Linked DNA regions of Homo sapiens: regions 2 and 3 are each linked to region 1. The links are contacts of gene promoters, found by promoter capture Hi-C in blood cells and fetal thymus (Javierre and others, 2016). All regions are on one chromosome and are shown on one strand. The core of a region is centred on a gene start or on the middle of the fragment in contact, and the rest is flanking DNA. Distances in the headings are between cores, read along the strand shown.

Region 1 (2,700 bases), core at 147-2,646:
CTTTTACAAAAGGCTGATGCCAGCTTCCCAGCCACAGCAGTGCAAACAGTGGGGAAGGCACAGGGTGACCACTCACCTGGGGTCACACTGTCACTTCGTGGAACTGCCACAAGGTTCTGACCCTGAAGGGTCCACACTTGCTGATTCAAATCATTAATAGTCCCAGTAATAGGTTTACACACTGATTTTGGGATAGAGAAAAAAATGAAGAAATATTATAATCAAGGCTGCTTTACTAGACCCAGGAGAAAAGTATCTAACCCAGGCCATTTTGTAAGGAAGGTGTGGGGTTTGCATCCCCAAACTGACAGCACTCACATCACCCATCAGCCTAGCCTTTCTTTCTAGTGAAGTTGTGAGCTCTGGTGAGGAAGGCAAGGGCTACCAAGGGAAGTCACTGGTTTAAGAGGGCAAACTATCAAGACAGAGGGCAATGAGCAGTCTCACAGAACCTGTGTGCCAAGGCCCAGCTACCCTCTTTTGTGCCTACTCTGTGCTTGGCCCCGGTGCTGGGGACTGGAGCTGGATCAGTGACTAAGCAATAGCTCCCACCCTCCAGAAGCCCAGGGCCCAGTGGTAGGTGGGCAGCACCAGGTGGGAAGGGCAGTGTACAGAGAGGAGCAGAGAAGGCTGGGGCTTCCACAGGAGATAGCGTGAGTGCAGAGGGCCTAAGCCTCCAGAGCCCCATCCCAACAGCATTTGATTCACTTGATTGATAGACGGCCCTTCCTCCACCATCAGCGTCTCCTGGAGTGCCTCTCATAGTGTGGTTGTCTCAGCACCTGTGAAAGCAGACATAGAACAGATGAACCACAAGAGATGTTTCCAAGACCTTCCAGGACACTAGCTCCACAGGCCCTCATTCTAGACAGGGAGCTGGGAAACCTGGCCTGACACGAAGCTCTGGGCAGAAGTTCTGAGCCACATCTGGGACGAAACTTGAAGGAAGCATCAGCAAAGGGAGAACAGGTAGAATTTTCCTCCACCTGGAGATCCAGATAGTATGGTAGTGTCTCCCCTAGGAGTTCGAAGGCCAGGCATAAAATTTGACCTTAAATAACCCACAGGCACCTGATGCCCTGACTCCTCTTCTCTGAAGCCTCCACCCCTTCATCGGCATTGTTTTTGCCTAGGAGCAGGGGAGGGTCCCATGCCAGGGCCACTCTGCCAGGATCCCAGCAACTCCCCAGTAAGAAGCAGCCACACATAGGACAAAGCACAGAGCCAGCCTGATGTGGCCCTTCCCTTCATTAAGCCCAAAGCACAGATGAGAGGAAAGGCTCCAGAGGGAGGGAGAAGAGGTTTTCCAGCTATTGACTATACCTGGCAAGAAAGGGTCTTTATCTACAGTCCAGGGGACTGAATCGTGGCTCCAGCAGCTTCCAAGGTCAGTGATGGGTTCTAATGGAGCCTGGATCATTTATCTGGATGAGCAGAGAAGGAGGCTCCAGCTTCCTGGGTGGGGCATGAGAAACGTATGACATGAAAGAAAACCAGCTCCTCCTACCAGAAGATCCTGTGAGGCTCGGAGGAAGAAATCACAGAATTAGCACAAGTATCACCTGTCCGGGCTCGCTGAGAAATAAGTGTTGAGCCAATCCGCACAAAATCAACCACAAGGAAATGAGGTTGATGACAGATCCTAGGTTTCTCATAAAGGGGAAACTAAGGGAATTTCCCAGAGTTCAGCTCTCCTGTCATGTCATTCTAGAGCTAGAACTGGAAATGCCAGGCACTCTCATGTCAGGGACTCCATCTCCTGGGACTGGGAGCCTTGCCCTCTGCAGTCAGGCTAAAGGCATCCTGTAAGAGCAAAATTAGCCACACGTCTCAGGCAAGGTCCCTGTGGCATTTCTCAACTACCCCACCTAAGGCCACACCTGAATGGAAAGCCAGGCAGTAGAGCTCCCCTACCTAACACTCTTTCAGCTCCATCCACATGGGGAGCCACAGGGACTATGCAGACTGGTCTTTTAACTGAGGCAATCCTAGTTTCAGGTACCCTCAAAATGCAGTGGACTCCAGAACTGCCTAAGGAAGTAAAGAGGTGGGCAGCGATTTCTCCCAAATCTGAGCCCCAGATGCCAGCTTATCCCCCACCCTCTGCCCTAGGTTCCTGATCAGTGGTAATAGTTATTTTTATATCTTGTTTATACACCCCATCCTATCTGCTGTAGCCAAGCCTAAAAATTTACTGAGGTATAAGTTAACTACTAGAGTGAAGTGAGTTTTAGGAGACAGACTTGAAGCACTAACAGCTTCAGGTTTACCCATCTATAAGGAAGAAAAGCACAAAGAATGAGACAGAACCTTCCAGATAAGCTCATCCATGAGCCCCTCTTCCCAGCCCTGCAAAGAGTCTCCTGACTCAACGTCTCTTACTTTTCACCCTAATCTCCTTTCTGGCCTTGGAAGAACACAGTCCTTTCCTGCCATGGCCCCAATTCTATCACTTTTGGCTTCCAGTGTTTCTGTGACCCTAGGAAAGAGTGTGGTAATGCCAGGTGCACTTTTGTTCAAAGTCAACCTGAGCCAGTGCCACCTCACTTGAGTCTCCATTGCCCTGTTAAAAATCCCCTCCATTACACATCAGTCAACATAACTCCTTTCTTGGGATGTTCACCACAAAACAGCATCTAAAATTCCCATCATTTGACCCCCCAAATCCCTTAAGCCTGAATTTCCAACTGGGATCCCTCT
Region 2 (2,700 bases), core at 103-2,602, 230 kb after region 1:
CTCTGGGCACATACGAGGGAGCACAGATGCTGGCTGTGAAAGCACGCGGTAAGCCTGTGTGCACAAGATGCTGAAGGGATCAGAAGGAGTGTGGGTGCTACACACAGGGCTGACAGCACACAGGAACCTGAGGTAATGTGATAACTGTAGGAAGCAGCTTGTACCCACTGGGTCTAGGAGAACAAAGAGAGGTTAGGGTATCAGAACCAAGAAGCAGGAGAGACAAACCCTGGTAGAAATGGGACTCCAACTGTAAGGAAGGCATACTACCCAGCAGATGATGGAGGAGAGGCCCTGCAGGGCTGGGGCTCAGATTTTGAGGAAAAGATGCTATCCATTTGGTGCTTCTGCTCTGAAGCTGCACAGGGAGGTGGGCTCTGAGGGGGAAAAAAAGATGCTAGAACCAACTGTTACTGCCAGGGTGAGGGACCGTTGCTGGGGTGATGAAAGCAAATAGGAAGAAGCAAGTGTCTTCCTTCTCCATCCCTGCAGCCTCCCTCTCGTGCCCCCTGCTGGCAGAGCTGAGCAGGGAGCTGCTGCCCAGCAGAAAGTTTTACAGAGTTTTATCCCCAGCATCACAAAGCAGAGGATGGGGTTTGGGGCCAATAGACAAAAGCTTCATAACTGACATATCTTGTCATTGTTCATTTCTAAATAGCTTGAGATTCCCATTTTGAGTTCTTTAACCCAAAAAATATCTTAGAAAAGTATCTTTTAATTTCCAGATGTGTAGATTTTTTTTTTCTGCTGTTAATTTCTAATTATATTGCATTGTAGTTGGTGAATGTGGCCTATGTGTACTCTACTTGATGGATTTTGTTGAAATTTTCTTTGTGGCCTTAATATCTGATCATTCTTGGTAAATGTTCCAAAAGTGTTTGAAAATAATGTATATCCTATTTGTTTATTTGATCTATTGCTTTCTGAAAGAAATATGCCAAAGTCTGTCACTGGCACTGTGATTAATCATTGACAATTTCTCTTCATATGTCTGTCAATTTTTACTTTCTATTTTTTAAAGTTATGTTGTTAGGTACAGAAAGATTCATGACTTGCTTTGATTTCTTTTGTCTGATTAATCTTGCCACACCTGCTTTTTGTTGTTAGAATATGTCTGGTAGCTCTGGTAGCTCTTTTTCCATCCCTTTACTTTAAGCCTTCATGGGCTGACTTATTTTAGGTATGTCTCATATAAATGCACACAGTTAAATGTTTTAAACAAATTTGAAACTCTCTGCTTTTAAAAAGCAAATTTAGTTCGTACACATTTATTATGATTACTTGTATGTTTAAACTTATGCCTGCTATTTTATTTTGTAATTCAGCTTACATGAATTATTTTTTCCTCATTTCTGTGTTTAATCTAGTTTTATTTCATAAAATAATACACTGAAATGAAAATAAAGTGATAGATGTAAGCTCAAACATGATTTGCAGAATATATATCATATTCTTCTTGCAGTTCCTTTTTTCATTTTTTTTTTTTTTTTAAGAGACAGGGTTTCACTCTTTTGCCTAGATTGGAGTGCAGTGATGCCATCATAGCTCACTGCAACTTTAAACCTCCTGGGTGGACCCAAGTGATCCTCCACCTCAGCCTCCTGAGTAGCTAGGACTACAGGTACACACCACTACACCCATTATAGTTTACATTTTTTTGTAGACACAGGGTCTCACTGTGTTGCCCAGGCTGGTCTCAAACTCCTAGCCTCAAGCAGTCCTCTGCCTCAGCTTCCCAAAGTGCTGGGATTACAGGTGTGAACCACCCACTGCACCTGGCCTGCAGTTACTTTTATTTCAAGTCTTTCATGTGAATTCTAAAGTTTACTCACTAGTGACTTTATGATTTTTGAATGGCAAACCTTTTGAGTCTGTATTCTTGTGAAACTTGTTATTTGCCTTCATGCTGGAATCATAGTTTGGCTGGGGGAAATTTCTTAATTTCAGCTTGTTTTCCCTGGAAAAATTTAAGTGACTGCTTCATTTTCTTTCTTGCATCTGGAGTTGTTGATTTGTTAATGTCTCACGTCAGTCTGATTCTCATTCCTTTATAGGTAATCCTTTTCTTCCCCCTCTCTGGAAGCTTGTACGATTTTCTTTTTATCTTTGGTTTTCTATTATATTTTTTTCTCCCATTCATCCTGCTTAACTATCTGAGAGCCTTTTCAACCTGAACAACTGTTTCTTTGTTCATTTCTTGAAATTCTTCTTCTACAACCACTTTGTGTGTTGAACTTTTTTCCTTCTAGAAACTCTCTTAGATGGATATTGGAGTTATTGAGTAATGGATATATCCTTCAGAACTCTAAATGTTGTTTTCATACTGTTCACTTCATTGTTTTATTACACTGGTTTCTAGGAGGATTTCACAGCTGAATTTTCAGCTCACAGATGTATTCTTCAGCGCTGTCCATGCAGTTGTTCTGCCTTTCTGTTGGTTATTTTTCATAACAGCCCATTCTAGTTTTAGGATAGCAATACTCTCTCTTATCACTCTGAAGATATTGACTGTGATACTCTTAAAAGTATTCCTCTTTGCTCCAGTGTTCATTCTTGTTTGTTGAGTTTTATGCCTCTTTCATGTAGTGTTGGTTTTCTCAAATGTTAGTGATTCTCAATTGTGAACTTACCTTTGCGTCTCCCCCATTTCTAGCAGTAGAAGGTGCTGCTTGGCTGAGTGTGCCAGTACCTGGATTTCTG
Region 3 (2,700 bases), core at 111-2,610, 250 kb after region 1:
TAGATAAAACAGGAGTGTAGAGGTGACATTAAGTTTAAAAAAAAAAAAAAACTACCCAAATAGAAGTATCTGTCCTACCTCCTACCCATGAGGTAGGACAGATACAGAATTAGGAGTTTGTCTAAGGATATGAGTTTTCTCATGAATGTGTCTGGGTAGGAGGTAGCATTCTAATCCAAAGCCCTATATCCTTTCTCCACTTTCTTTTTTCTCATATTCTTTGTCCTGCCCTTTCCCTGCAGTTCTACAAGAGTAATAATAAACTGGGTGACATGTGTCTTTCAATAAAATACACAGGTACGTAGATGCCAGAGACACAACGGTGAGCCAAAAGGACATTACCTTTTGGAGCTGAGAGTCTAGTGAGGACACGTGTTAATCTAGGAACCACAAATGCAAGACTCCAAGTCCTGAGAAATAGAGGCCTATGAGCGAGGGACTAAAGAGAAACTGGTCTAGTCAGGGATCTTCGCTGAGGGGAGAGCGGAGGTAACAGGGAGAAGAGGCAGGGAATGGGCCAGACATAGGAAAAGCACAAGAAAGGCCCTTTGGCCACCTCTCTCCTTTCCCTCGCTAGGATCCCCTAAAGCATTTCTGCCAGATTGTTTATCCCTCAGTCCTTTTCTGTATCCTCTCTACCCTGGGTAGGAATTCTGAGATTTGACTTTTGTAGTGTTAGCTACCACACTATATTTCAGGACCTTTCCGGAAAAGTATGGGCTCTAGGGTCTGAGCAGTTTTTCTGATAAATACTATCCTTTAGCTCTTGACTAAGAATCAAGCGTTTAAAGACACAGGCCAGTGAGACCTGGGATTTACTGGAGAACCTGCCCCTGTAAAGACACAGGCCAGTGAGACCTGGGATTTACTGGAGAACCTGCCCCTGTAAAGACACAGGCCAGTGAGACCTGGGATTTACTGGAGAACCTGCCCCTGTAAAGACACAGGCCAGTGAGACCTGGGATTTACTGGAGAACCTGCCCCTGCAGGCTCTGGGACCTGAAAGTCAAACCAGGGAAAGGAAGAAAAGGCCTTGGCAGTGTCAAACCTGGAAGCTTCTGAAATGCAAAGAAGATGTTTTAAAAAAAAAAATGCCAGGCTCGGTGGCTCTCGCCTGTAATCCCTACACGTTAAGAGGCCGAGGCAGGCGGATCACTTGAGGTCAGGAATTTGAGACCAGCCTGGCCAACATGGTGAAACCCTGTCTCTACTAAAAATACAAAAATTAGCCAGGTGTGGTGGAGTATGCCTGTAATCCCAACTACTCGGAGGTTGAGGCAGAAGAATTGCTTGAACCCAGGAGGTGGAGCCGAGATCGTGCCACTGCACTGCAGCCTGGGTGACAGAATGAGACTCTGTCTCAAAAAAAAAAAAAAAAAAAAAAAGTAAACTCTCTGATTCCATGGCCCGTTGTCCCTTATTTATCCTCAGGTATCTAAGTGTTGCCATTGTTTATCCACAGAAAATGAAGCTAATGAAGTGTGTCCTCAGACCTGTTCCTTCAAGGGTTTACTTTGTCATTTCAAACATGCAGATTCAACCTAGGTCTCCACAGAATGCCAGATGATACCACTAACAGACAAAAAGTAAACTGTAGGAGTAAACTGAAATCAGTGACATCAGAGCAATGATGCTTCAGCACTTTAATACCACAGAGAAGCTTCTAACACATTCGAGAGTCAAGTTTTAAAATCATGAGTATGACTTTTTATGTGTTTTAATGTGTATACACAAACTCAAAGACATTTGGGCTATCTCATTTAACATCTTTCGTAGTGACCCAGAATGAAAGAGCAGTTAGTGAGGCAATATATAGCCAATCAGGTTTTACTGTTCTTACTAGTAACAGAATCAGAAGTGCACAGAAATAACTATTTTTTAAAAGAAATGTTTAGAAATAAAATTGGATATGAGACATCATGCGTTCAAGAGAAGTAGGTAAAATAATTTCACTTGTGCACACGTTTCCAAACGTCTCAAAGACCATTGAGGATGCCTTCTAGGTTAAGAGCAATACTGCCTCCTCCCTAAAAGAAGTGTTTGCAGGCTCCAAATCTGCTGCATTTAGGAGATTTCAATACAGTTGCTTTTTCCTTTTTCCATACTTGTGTTATCTGAAAAATATCTCAAGTAGAAGATGGCCCGTGATGCCAGCCCATGTCCAGGATTCCGTCAGCCTCGATGTAACTTTCCTGATCCTCGTTTCTCTCTTTGCCCTAACCCTTATAAGAAACACAGAAAGTGACTATGGATATTTTCTTCCCAAGCTCACACAGTGACGCCCAACCAGGGGTAGATAATGTGTCAAAATGCCCTAGGCTGGATCCTGATGGGGTGAGGATATAGAGGGATCAAACCACAGGCTTCCCCAGCAAGCCTCTGTTACTGACAGGAGTGTGTCCATCTCTCTGCTGGGCTAGGATAGAAAAACAGTTGCCAACCACTGATTAAAGCCTGTGAATGCACTTGAATTTTGAGCTTCTCCTAGGCAGGAATGAAGTAACTTACACTTTATTTTCTAAACTGCCCGGCACACAGGAGGTGCTCAGTAAATACTGGTTGAAAGAACAAACACTGTGCCTGGTACAACCCAGCTAAAGGGGACCTATGGGATACACATCTTTTAAAGTGAGCCCCCAGAAAGCCAAGGGAGAAAGAGGAACATTTATGCAGGGTTTTGGGGGTGCAGAACCCAACGAG

The links. The method cuts DNA at HindIII sites, captures the fragments that hold promoters and counts their contacts. A CHiCAGO score of 5 or more calls a contact.
Region 2: a contact is called between a fragment that was not itself captured here and the fragment with the promoter of IL36G in region 1, in 2 of 17 cell types (M0 macrophages and M2 macrophages). The highest score is 6.0, in M0 macrophages.
Region 3: a contact is called between a fragment that was not itself captured here and the fragment with the promoter of IL36G in region 1, in 2 of 17 cell types (M1 macrophages and M0 macrophages). The highest score is 5.3, in M1 macrophages.

The regions. Positions count from the first base shown.
Region 1 is chr2:112,976,702-112,979,401 of GRCh38, reverse strand. IL36G (interleukin 36 gamma) reads right to left here and starts at 1,396. Exons shown (of 5, transcript NM_019618.4): 1 at 1,324-1,396; 2 at 709-782; 3 at 77-181. The coding sequence starts at 763. The HindIII fragment of the contact is 15,608 bases long and covers 1-2,700 here.
Region 2 is chr2:112,747,657-112,750,356 of GRCh38, reverse strand. All of the region lies in intron 5 of CKAP2L (cytoskeleton associated protein 2 like), which reads left to right. Among named protein-coding and RNA genes, the nearest start is that of CKAP2L, 16 kb to the left of the region's middle. RefSeq lists an enhancer at 303-352. The HindIII fragment of the contact is 1,467 bases long and covers 619-2,085 here.
Region 3 is chr2:112,730,603-112,733,302 of GRCh38, reverse strand. The region is part of intron 16 of NT5DC4 (5'-nucleotidase domain containing 4); the gene reads right to left. Among named protein-coding and RNA genes, the nearest start is that of NT5DC4, 11 kb to the right of the region's middle. The HindIII fragment of the contact is 605 bases long and covers 1,058-1,662 here.